Regions from separate parts of the Homo sapiens genome. Here region 1 is linked to region 2. The links are contacts of gene promoters, found by promoter capture Hi-C in blood cells and fetal thymus (Javierre and others, 2016). All regions are on one chromosome and are shown on one strand. The core of a region is centred on a gene start or on the middle of the fragment in contact, and the rest is flanking DNA. Distances in the headings are between cores, read along the strand shown.

What was found. Contacts are between HindIII fragments. The CHiCAGO score rates a contact against its expected background, and 5 or more counts as called.
Region 1: a contact is called between a fragment that was not itself captured here and the fragment with the promoter of ASIC1 in region 2, in 1 of 17 cell types (endothelial precursors). The highest score is 5.2, in endothelial precursors.

What each region holds. Positions count from the first base shown.
Region 1 is chr12:49,806,238-49,811,899 of GRCh38, reverse strand. All of the region lies in intron 1 of NCKAP5L (NCK associated protein 5 like), which reads left to right. Among named protein-coding and RNA genes, the nearest start is that of NCKAP5L, 19 kb to the left of the region's middle. The HindIII fragment of the contact is 1,750 bases long and covers 3,452-5,201 here.
Region 2 is chr12:50,052,565-50,058,965 of GRCh38, reverse strand. It overlaps ASIC1 (acid sensing ion channel subunit 1), which reads right to left and starts at 1,370. Exons shown (of 12, transcript NM_001095.4): 1 at 1,050-1,370; 2 at 1-215. The coding sequence starts at 199. RefSeq lists silencers at 1,168-1,337, 1,408-1,567. The HindIII fragment of the contact is 9,166 bases long and covers 450-6,401 here.

The DNA.
Region 1 (5,662 bases), core at 3,077-5,576, 250 kb after region 2:
GGTTTTGGGATTTTCTTTTTTGTTTTTTGAGAAGTTTGGCTTTGAAGTATCTAGAGTATTTTTTGAAATTTGGCAGTATCTGGGAAAATGTCAAGCAAAGATTGTTGTTTTTGTTTGTTTAAGAGAATAAAAAGGGTCCCTCTTTGTCGCCCAGGCTGGAGTGCAGCAGTAGCCGGGTCATAGCTCGCTGCAGACTCGGAGTCCCTCAAGTGATCCTCCCACCTCAGCCTCCCAAGTAGCTGGGACTACAGGTGTGAGCCACTGTGCCCAACGAGAAGATTGTTTTTAAGATTTAAAGATTTTAAGTTTTAAAGGGTAGATGAGAAAGCTGTCTTCAGGAGGTAGATACTGAAGACGTAAATGGGGAAAGTCTGGGACAAGCAGGACTGGCTTTGCCCGGGAGCAGGCAACTCATCTGCTGTAATAGTGGATGAGGAGGTGGGGAGGGTTCCGAGGGGGATGGGAGGGTGGCGGCAGGAGGTGTGAGGGGGTTCCCCTCTGCTGGCTTTAATCCTCTGGGGAAACAGGAGGGTGGTAAGCCAGAAGTTATAGGAGAGTGGAGAGGGTGTGTGCTACTCATGGCACAGAATGAGAGAGCAGCTCTCTTACTTGAGCTGGGCAGGATTGCCAGGCTGGACTGACAGTGGGGCTGAGCTGGCCTTCTGTGGTGGGGAAGAGAGTGAGAGAGCGCGTAAGCACAAGCCTGGGGACAGGAGTCCCTTTGCAACACCCACTCCTTGTGGAAAGAAGCATTGTCCTAGAATACGCAAGTTGAGGAATCCCAGGGAACTTCTTGAGCTCGCATGTGGCTATCTAAAATTAAATGTAAAATTCAGTTCCTCAGTTGGACTAGCCACATTTCAAGTGTTCGGCAGCCAGGTGTAGCTAATAGATAGCTTCCATGTTGGATAGTACAGACTAAGCATGTTCATTATTACAGAAAGTTCTACTGGACAGCACTGTTCTAGAAAAATGACTCCAACTTTTTGGTCTGAGGACCCTTCTATACGCTTAAAACTTGAGGACCCCGAAGAGCTTTTGTTTATAAATGTTATACTTACAGTTATTTAATTAATTTGTTTAAAAATAGCAATAAACCCATCACATGTTAACATATTTTATTTAAAAATTTAATTGTATATGTTCCAAAAACACAAATAATAATAAGTCATTGTTCTCTATTTTTGCAAATTTCTTCTGTCTGACTTAATAGAAGGAAGCTGGCTTCTCCTGTCTGCTTCGGTATTCAATCTTTTGCGGTATCACACAGCATAGTATCTGGAAAATGCCACTGTACACTCAGGAGAGAATGAGAGTAATAAAGGCAGATAGTGTCTTAGTAGTAGTATTAGGAAAACAGCTTTGACCTTACAGACCCCTGGAGAGGGCCACAGGGTGCCTAGGCCCCACTGTGGGAACCACTGTGGCAGAACAACAACCACTTGGCGTGAAGAAACTCATCTCGGGGAGACGGAATGATTTGCCTAGTCACACAGCACATAAGTTAATTGCAGAGTTCGAACTGGACTCCATGCCTAGACTCTTCTGCCTTCCGGTCTAAGGCTGTTTCCAGTACCCTCGGCTGGGCTAGGACGGCCTGGGCTGGACTTTTGGGAGTGGGGCCTGGGCCACTTGGCTGCAGAGCCCCTGGTGTGTGGTCCTATAAATAAACCCATTGTGTCGGCACCCCTTCCCTCTCCCCACCCCCTTCCCTCCCCCCACCCCCGGCAGCTGCTAGTTTTGTTACTGGGTTATGCTGTGGACAGGGAGCAGGAGGGCTCTGAGGGAGGGGAGATGAGGGATGTTGAAATCTGGAGGCCTTTGGGGCTTATAACACGACTGCCCTTCCTTCTTCCCTTCCTGGAAGGGCCGAGGACCTATCCTGCAGCTGGTTTGGAAGAACTCACACCATGGTGGTTGAGGTGCTTGGAGTGCCTGTGAAACGGAAGTTGGGGGGATGTAGGGGGCCCCTTCCAAGACAGATGCCTCTCAGAAGGGCTATTGTGTCTCCAGTACCAGTTGTCAGGAGGAGGGAAGGAAATTCTTGTCTGCCCTCTTACCCTGAATGGGGAGGAGACCAGTTGGAATTCTCAGGGCTGAAAGATGCTTTGGGTCAGGGATTAAGTGGCCCCTTTCAGGCTAGAAGTGCCCTGGGAGCCAGGCCTCAGTCCTCCTATCCCTCCCCACACTCCTCAGCAGCCCAGGGCTGATCTTGGCTGGAAAGGGTGTTTGCTGTGGGGACAGAAGTTGCTGTTTACAAGTGGATTCTTGGGTGTGACTGGTAAAAGGGCTGGGAGGGTAAGAGGGATTCCAGAAAGCAGCTGGGGAGGGTGCGGAGGGAAGCGGTTGGTGTTACGGGTGATTCTGTGATTAAGTGAGCTCTCCATCTCTGCCTTCCTACAGCTGCCCACCCTCCCCCACTCCTGGTCCCTGGCTTCTCTCCCTAGAGGACTCTGGGGGGAACAGCTGGTGAATGAGGGGCTCACCAGGGGCCAGGAGGCCTTGGCTAAGGGCCGGGGTGAGGGAATGAGGACAGGCTTGCTGCCGCCTGCCTCTCCAGCCCCTTCCTCCCATGCCTGGTCTCTGTTCAGGGAGGGGTCTTGCCTGTGCCCTGCTGGAGAGGAGGTAGGAGCCACAGACCCCTTCTGGTCTGGCTAACTGAAAGGCCAGGACAGTAAGATCTCTTTGGAGGCCCTGAAAGCCCCTGTCCCCTCCTGGCTTTAAGGGGGAAGGGAGAGCTGGGGCCCTCCGTGACTGACTTGGCTGAAGAGATGGTGGTCGCCCAGGTTACCCAGAGACCCCTGAGCAAGTTTCCTCCTTCCTCGGCCCTGGCTGCCTGAAAACTGGCCCCCTCCCCACACCCTCTGAAGGACGAGCCAGAGAGGACTCCGCTCTTCTCCCCCCTCCTTCTCTCCCTCCCCCTGCACTGAGGTCACCTCCCTCAGAATCAGGCCTTTGTGGATGGCAATTCCGGCGGGAGAAGCCTCCAGTTCAAGTTAGAGTTCCCAGACCCTGCCTGGCCGGCACTGTGTGTCCAGACCCAGCGTCCCAGACGTGTTGGGGCCACCAGAGGAATGTCTGAAACCAGAGCCATTCCAAAAACCCGAAGCCTGGGGTTTTCCCTGCCCCAGGTCGGGCTGAGCTCATGGCTGTGAGCAGGAGCTGTGGGTCCTGAGGGAGGAGGCGGTGCTCAGCCCCTGGGGAGGCAGCAGGGACCACCACTGCGAAGCCTGCCTGGGCAGGCATCCCCCATGAGAGGCAGGCAGAAAGCCCAGACTCCAGAGGGCCACATTCCTGACTTGGCTTCGATTTGGAGCTGGTGGTGGTGGTCTCTCTCTGGATCTTGACCTTCCCTAGAGAAGGGTAAGGACGCAGGAAGTTTTCTTTAGAAATCTTGAACTCAGACTCTGGGCCGACTCTCATGGCCCGTGCTCCTCCCCACCACCAAGCTTTCCTGCAGGTCTCTTCCCCGTGACAGCTTCCTGCCCTCCACTGTGACGGCCCTGCAGATGCAGAGGAGGCCCCCTCATCCTGGGCTGACCCCAGACCCCCTCGCTGTGAGGCCAGAAAGTATTTCTCCTGAAGAGGGGCTGAGTCCTAGCCCCACTCCAGCTGGGGCACTCTGAGAAGAAGAACTGTGACCACTGGCTGGCTCATAAATCGGAGGGTCTCCCCCATTCTCAGTGGAACTCGGGCCTCCTGGCCTGGGATTCACAGGGGCTCAGCTGTGGATCGGGGCCATGCCTGGCTTTGTGTGGAGTGTGTGGGGTCTCCATGCTCCTCAACACAGAAAACCACTGCGTGCACACATAGAGAGTCCGCAGCCAGTCCTCACAGCCTGGCCTTGCTCTTAACCTGGATGCTTTTTTATTATTTTGGGAAAAGATACTCTACATTGTTTCGTTGTTGCTTTCTTGTGAAGAACACAAATCTTAGGGTTTCCCGGTCCTTAGCGTTATCCTTTTCCAGACCCCGAATGCTGCCTTCTTCATCCCATTCCTTTCCCTCACCCTCCCAACTTTTTTCTCTTCCTCCACAGCATACCTCAGCCACACCCTAGCCCCTCTGATGGTGAGGGGATTGAGGGACACGCTGGGGACCGATGGGCAGGTTGCTGCAGGCAGTGGGAGGACAGTGGCCCAGAGACCAGAGTTGTGGGTGAGGGTGGCACTGGTCAGATGCTGGAGGTGACCTGAGACATTCTGGGTTTCACCCCATTTGAGTGTGGGAAGGAAGATAATTCTTAAATATTTTTCATTTTTTTTCCAGGCCTGTATATTTCTAAGTCTATCAAACGTGATAATGTTATGAGCAAACCAAGTTAAATATGATACATTTTTATGATGTTAAAATAAAAAACTTCAGATTATTATACAGTATTAACAATAAGCATTAGAGGCCAGGCACAGTGACTCGTGCCTCTCATCCCAGCCACTTGGGAGGCTAAGGCAGGAGATCACTTGAGCCCAGGAGGCCAAGGATGCAGTGAGCTATGAACGTGCCACTGAACTCCAGCCTGGGCAGTGAGGTGAGACCCTGTCTCTTTAAAAAATAAAAAAATCAGTATTAAACAGGTCTTCCTTTTCCTCCAAGTGTTTTCAGAAGTCCCCTTCCCACTGTTGTGTACACACACACACACACACACACACACACGAAGAAGCATTCTCTCTTTTCACTGTAATCCCAGCCCCCAAACATCCAGCTGCTTCTCTTTCTGGGGTATAGAAGAGAAGAGGGAAGGCAAGGCTGGCCCTGGGGCTGGAGGGCCGGCTGGGAGGAGTTGGAGAGGAGGCCTCTGAGGGCAGGGTGGGCAGAGCAGCATTCTGAGATCTTCAGGTGCCCCTATAGCGGAGACCCCTGGGTAAGGGCCCTGGGACTCGGAGTCGGCCTCTGTGTGAACGGACAAGGTAGCAGCAGGCTCCACAACAACCCCATAGCTTTGTACTGTGCCTCTGTCAGCAGGTGATGATATGAAAAGTCTCCATTTATGGAATTCACGCCAGACACTCTACATATATTATCTCATTTTGTCCTCCAACAACCCTTTGGGCTAAGTGTTCTTATCCCTGTTTTACAAGTGAGAACAAGAGAAAAGAGATTCTTTAGTGTCAGATTTCTAGCCCAAGTTTCTAGCCTCCAGGGAGCCTTAGGGCTGTACGGAGCTTAAATGTCTGTTTTACTGTGGAGCTTACAGTGAAGCTTGGGTGTGTGCAGAGGAGTGGGAAAATCTAGGCCTGTCTGGTGTGCTTTGTGAAGTAGTCATGTGACTTGGGCAATATCCTCTGCCCCAGAGCCTGCCTCCTCCCGCAGGCGGGTGCTCCCCTTCCAGGGTTGTTAGGAGAACTGGATGGGATGGTGTGGAAGAAAGCGCCTGTGCTATTCATCACACTGGGTAAACACAGTGTGTGCAAGTGTAACTTTCTGTTCCTCGGTTTCCTCATCTGAAACACAGGCACTGATAATAGCATTTAACATTGTTGTGGTTAACTGTTGAGCACGAGGCAAGACAATGTATGTTGTAGAACCGGGTTGTAAAGTACCAGGTGTGACTTTTCAGTCTCCTCTGTTGTCTGATGATTCCTGGCTGAGAGATGGGGACCTTTGCACTGGCTCTTTCTGCTGTCCCAAATGCTTTCCCATTCCAGGATTTCATCTGGACTTC
Region 2 (6,401 bases), core at 121-2,620:
ACTGCACACGCTCCGTGCACACACACAGCAGCACAGCCAGGGAGCCCAGGAAGCACAGGGCCCACAGTGCCCGCTTCAGAGACAGCCGCTCGTAGGAGAAGATGTGGGCCAGGCCGTGCAGTGTGGAGCTGCTGGCGAAGGCCTGGATGCTCACCGGCTGGACGCCACCCACCTCCTCCTCCTCGGCCTTCAGTTCCATCCTTGTTGAGGGGATCCTGGGGGAGGAGGGAGGGACAGTCTATCATTGTCCTGGGATGAAAGTACACATGGAGCCCCTCCACATGTGCCCATCCAGAATCCTCATCTCCAGAGGTCACCACTCCTCGGGCAGAAGACTTCCCTGCTTTGCAAGCCCAGAGGTGGCTGACCAAGGGACACATCCAGGGTTCCTCCAAATACAGAGGCACAGGGGGTCAGGTCAGGCCAAGAGAATGCTCCCCAGAGAAGCTTCCCAGGCCCGGGGAGACCCCAGATATAGTCATCCGAGGTTGAGGGGGAAGTCCTGATGCACCCATAGGCAGGCGCAGGAGTTCCCTCCAGATGTGGGGTCACTCTGGGACAAGAATATCCACCCCATCCTGGAGATGAAAACTCACCCAGATGGGCTGACCCCGGGGTAAGGAGCTCCTGTCCTGGTCACGGGTATTCCCTGGACGGGGCTGTGGTCCTAAGGGCTAAACTGGGGCCAGAAAACCCCCAGGGAGGTGGCTACATCTAGGGAGGGGCCCAGCCTGAGTCCTCACCTGCGGGTGTCTCCAGTTCTCACATAAGCGCAGGCTGTGTGTATGTTGGGAGTGGGGGGTGGCGGGCTGCCCGAGGTGGATGTATGGAGGGGGGGCGCGGTTCCCTATGACAGCGAGCTGTCCCCGCCCCGGACGCAGCCCCCCCCAGTCCAGCTTCTCGTCGCAGTCAGATCCCCAGCTCGGCCCCCGCCCCCCTCCCCAGCCACCGAGCCGCCCCAGCAGCAAGGGAAATCCAGAGGGAGGAGAGTCCCGGCTTCGGGGTACCGAGGAGCCTCGCGGCCAAAGGCAGGGGTATCGGAAACCCACCTGAGGGGGCTTCGGCAAGCCGGCAGCCGGCGGCGGGTCCTGGGGCGCTGGACCGGTGGCGGGCTCAGCGCCGAGTCGCGGAGGGGCTCATGGCCCGGGGCCGGAGCCCGCGGCCGCCGCGGCACGCCGCGCAGAGCCCTGCAGGGAGCGCCCCGCCCGGCCCCGCTCGGCTCCGATCTGTCCGCCCGCCCGCGCGCGCTGGCTCGCTGGCTCGCTCGCCTCGGCTCGGTCTGCCCGGGCTCGGCGCGGTGCGCGGTGCTCTCAGCCCTGGGATCTGCAGGGATCCATCGTCCGGCCGGGAGGCGGCGGGAGGGGAGGGGGAGGGGAGAGGGTGCGCGTGCGCGCCTACGAGTGTCTGCGAGGCTGTCTCTGGGCTGGTGTGCGCGCGGGGCCCCGGATCCGGGAGCGGGACCCAGGGCTCCCCGCGCCGCCTCGCCCCTCCTCGCGGCCGCTTTCGGCGGCGCTGCCTCTCTCCAGTCCCGGAGCCGTCTCCCTGCCTGCGAGGCCCTATGGCTTGTGTGTATGACTCTGTGTGTGGTGTGTGTGCGCGCGCGCGTGTGTGCGCGCAGGAGGGAGGGTGTCTGCCCCTAGCGTCCCTCTCCCCGCGCTGTCTCCTTCGGATCGATGCTCCTGCCTCTTGCTGCTGCTTCCTCTGGTGGCACACACGCGCGTACACACACACATACACACACACGCTCCGAGTCACACTTGACTAATTCAAGCACTTAGCCCATATGGAGACAGACACACATACCGACCAGAGTCACACCACACCATTCACAACCACACCCCCCCGCAACAGATGTCCACGTATCCCGGGGGCCTGACCCACATGGCAAGCACTCACCTGCTCTTATCCCTGCTCCCACCTGCATGTGACACATATACACGTGCACATATGTGAGCCAACACGCAGCCTTGACCACTCAGATCCCATCCTTGTAGCTTTGGGCTTGTGGGGGGCATGGTCGCAACCCCTTACTGCCAAATCTCCAAAGAAGGAGCAGAGAAAAGGAAGGAAAAATAGCCAGAGGTCAAGGGAATTTGGACAGAAGGAAGGAGGCAAAGGGAGTGAAGGGGACAGGGTGAGGAAGGGTTGGAACGGGGAGCTATGCTCAGGGATGGAGCAGAAGTCTCAGCACAGAACGCAGGCCTGGGGGCTGCTCCTGTGGCTCTCACCTTTCTCCTTCCCTGCCTCCCTCCTCTTCTCTGAGAGGCCTTGGGGAGGGGGGCCCTCCCTATCCAATTAACAGAGAAGGAGCAATCAAGGGGAAGTTGTTAATTTGCTGATGCTCATTAGGGGCTCTTAGCACAGAGGCTGTTGAGGTCTGATGGTGTCAGATGATGAGGAGGAGGGTGCGGGGGACCAGAGTTCTGTCTCTAGTGGCTCCTTCGCTCTACTTGCAGGCTGGTGCGGCTCGGGGAGAAGGATGGTGAGAGGTGTATTCCTAGGACATGGTGCCGGGCTTTAAGTTAGAAGAAAACCTGTAACGAGAAGGGGATGGCACATTGGAAAGAAGTTGGATGAGAAGTTGGGAGTAGTGGACATCTAGGAAACCAGAGAAGGGGTCTGGAGGTCCCTAGTGGGAGAGTGGACTTAAGATTGTGGAGGAGGGAGGTCGAGATCCATTTACTAGGGGACTGGACACGGAGCTGCCAAAAGGAAGGGAGGATCTTCCATTCAGGTCTTGGGGAGCTGTTCAGCGGTACCAGGCAGTGCTGGAGGGTTGCTATGCCCCCGGGCAGCCACTGGGTGGCAGCCCTCTCCCAGATACTTAGAATCAACTCGTGGGGGGCATTTGAGAGTGGGAAATCACCTGGGAGGGTCCCAGAGACCTGAGGAAGCATCAGGCAGAGTCTGATTCCTGAATTCCAAATATCCTCAGGGGGAGGGGAACACTATTTTGGAGCATCTGTAATTTCCCCACCTCCCCGCGGCTCGCAGGCTGACTGACACGTGGAGCCTCTTCAAATGGCTGCAATTGCTTCAGTCACCTGGGATGTTACTGAGGGAGCAGCGGGGGTGGAGGGAAGGTGATGAGGTGAGGTGGAGGCAGGCGAGGACTGATTGAGGCCAAGGAGCAGCCTCAGGAGGAGTCTGGGGGAAGACAGAAGGTATGAATCAGGAGAATCAGCTTCCAGACCTGGCCCTGCCATTCATTAGCATAGGCAGGCCCCTTGACCTCTCTGGACCTCGGTTTCCTCATCTGTAAGGCAGAGATAATATTTATTTCACAGGATTTTTCGAGGATTACATGAGCTAACGCATGGAAAGTGCTTAGTACATTGGCATGTACCTAGTAAATCCCAATAAGTAAATAACTATTATTAGTATTAGCATTTGGATCTAGTGGTAAAACCACCAGTGCAGCCAAACCAGGGCAGAATCTAAGGCACTGGTTCTTAACCCAGGCTGCACATTCGAATCACCTGGGGAGCTTTTAAAACTGCAATGCCAGCTGGGCGCGGTGGCTCACTCCTGTAATCCCAGCACTTTGGGAGGCAGAGGAGGGTGGATCGCCTGAGGTCAGGAGTTTGAGACCAACCTGGCCAACATGGTGAAACCCATCTCTACTAAAAATACAAAAAGTAGCTGGGCGTGGTGGCGGGCACCTGTAATCCCAGCTACTCGAGAGGCTGAGGCAGGAGAATCATTTGAACCTGGGAGGCGGAGGTTGCAGTGAGCCGAGATTGTGCTATTGCACTCTAGCCGGGGAGACAAGAGCGAAACTCCATTTCAAAAAATAAAAATAATAAGATAAAACTGCAATGCCAGCCAGGCGTGGTGGCTCACGCCTGCAATCCCAGCACTTTGGGAGGCCGAGGTGAGTGGATCACCTGAGGTCAGGAGACCAACCTGGCCAACATGGTGAAACCCTGCCTCCACAGAAAATACAAAAATTAGCCAGGCGTGGTGGCACGCACCTGTAATCCCAGCTACTCAGGAGGCTGAGGCAGAAGTGCTTGAACCCGGGAGACAGAGGTTGCAGTGATCGGAGATCGTGCCACTGCACTCTAGCCTGGGCAACAGAGCGAGACTCTGTCTCAGAAAAAAAAAAAAAAAACTGCAATGCCATGGCTCCACTTTAGACCAGTTAAATCAGAATCTCTGGGGCTGTGGCGCGATCTTGGCTCACTGCAAGCTCAGTCTCCTGGGTTCACGCCATTCTCCTGCCTCAGCCTCCCAAGTAGCTGGGACTACAGGCACCCGCCACTACACCTGGCAAAGTTTTTTGTATTTTTAGTAGAGACGGGGTTTCACCGTGTTAGCCAGGATGGTCTCAATCTCCTGACCTTGTGATCCACCCGTCTCAGCCTCCCAAAGTGCTGGGATTATAGGCGTGAGCCACCATACCCGGCCTTTTTTTTTTTTTTTTTTTTTAAGTTGGGGTCTCACCCTGTCGCCCAGGCTGGAGTGCAATGGCACAATCTCGGCTCACTGCAACCTCCGCCTCCCCGGTTCAAGAGGTTCTTCTGCCTCAGCCTCCCGAGTAGCTGGGATTACAGGCGCACACCACGACGCCCGGCTAATTTTTTGTATCTTTTGTAGAGCTGGGGGTTTCACCATGTAGGCTTGAACTCCCGACCTCAGGTGATCCACCCACCTTGGCCTCCCAAAGTGCTGGGATTACAGGCATGAGCCACTGCGCCCGGACAATCGCCCAACTTTTTGAGGCCTTTAACATATAGCCAATCTTGAGCAACCTTGCTCTTCAGAACTTATGGGTCTGAATTATGGTTTCATAGTGTCACAGGCCCCAGTCTTAGGAAGTTCTTTCTTATATACAACCTAAATCCCTCATGCTGTTGTTTCTTCTTCGTTTGAGAAGTGATGGGTCCTTGCACACACACATCCCCTCATCCCTACCCTGTACATCGCAGCAAACCTTCACCGAGGGTTTTCCTGGATCAAGCCCCAAGATTGGCCCTGTGGACATGGTGAGGATTGGCAGAGTCCTTGCCTCAAAATATCCCAGTGTGGAAAGAGAGACAAACATGTTGACTTGTGACTCTAGTGCAAGGGCCAGGAGTGAAATAGAAGGCTGAGCCAGGGCTGCCAGCAGAGAGAGGCAGGGGGGCAGTCACTCTGACAGGGGTTTGTGGGACAAGGATGAGGAAAAGAGGAAGTTGGTGTTGGCAGGGCCTTAGTAAGATAACACTTGAGGGATCCAAGGGCTGTGATTAGTGTCTCATTACTTCTTTCTGCTTCTCTGGCCCACCCACCCCTTGTCCAAGTCCTGACAGAGGATACTGGCTCCTTCAGCATCCTCCCAGCTTCTTCTCCATGCTTCGTTTTCTCTGGACCCTGCAGTCCTTAGACCTCAGTACCCTTTATCCCCACCACGGACTGAGAGGGAAACAGGCCTGAAGATATTTCTCCTTCTGCTGGCAGGAGGCATCTAGCCAGGGCCCACTTAGGACTTTGGCCTTGTGCTCACCTAGGTTCAAATCTCAGCTCTGTCACACCAGTGCTGTGTGGCCCTGGGCAAGTAACCTAGCCTGAGTCTCACTTTTCTCCAGAAACCATAAAACCCAGCTAATGCCCATGCTGTTGAAACAATGTGTGTCTAGCAAACAGTAGGGGGTGTTCCATCAATAGTGGCAAGCATTATGATCATCCCTGAAAGGCTGATGGGGGCAAATTCCCCATGGATGCTTCCCTTGCAGATGGCCCCATCTGCTTTAGGTGCAGAAGCGCCCTCCAGCCTCTCAGAGATGGGTGAAGAGGGAGGGTAAAGAGGGGGACAAGACCCCCTGGGATTTCCAGGCAGCTCTTCTCCGCTCCCCCGTGCATGAAATCACACGCGCCCCAATCTGTCTGCATCCACTTCATCTGCCGGCTCAGCAAATGCAGAGACAATTAAGGAGTTAATTAGCACGCACTGGGAAGGGGCTGGGGACCTAAGGCTGATGGGACCCAGCAACACAGCCTCCCCACCCTCCATACTCAACGTTGTCCCCCCACCACCTGCCAACCCATAACCCTCATCTTTTCCACTGCTTTCTCTTTTTACTAGTCCAAACACTCCTCTTACCCCACTCCCACACTTACCTGCTATCCTCACCCTTTCTCCCCCACCTTATGCTATCCTGTCTCTTTTCTCTCATTCCTCTCTCTAATCTCTTCTCTCCTCCTCCACTCAGCTTTTCTCCCTTTTCCCACTCAAGTCTCTGTCTTCTCCATCCTTCTAGGACTCACCCTTTCCTCCTCCCCACTTCCTCCTTCTAATCTAGCCCCCTCTTCACTCCCCATCTCTTCTCCCTCTCCTATTCATCACCTTTCCCTCTCCAACTTGAATATGGGTCTCAACAAATGTGCCTGTCCACTGGTTCATGAACATGGGGCTCTGT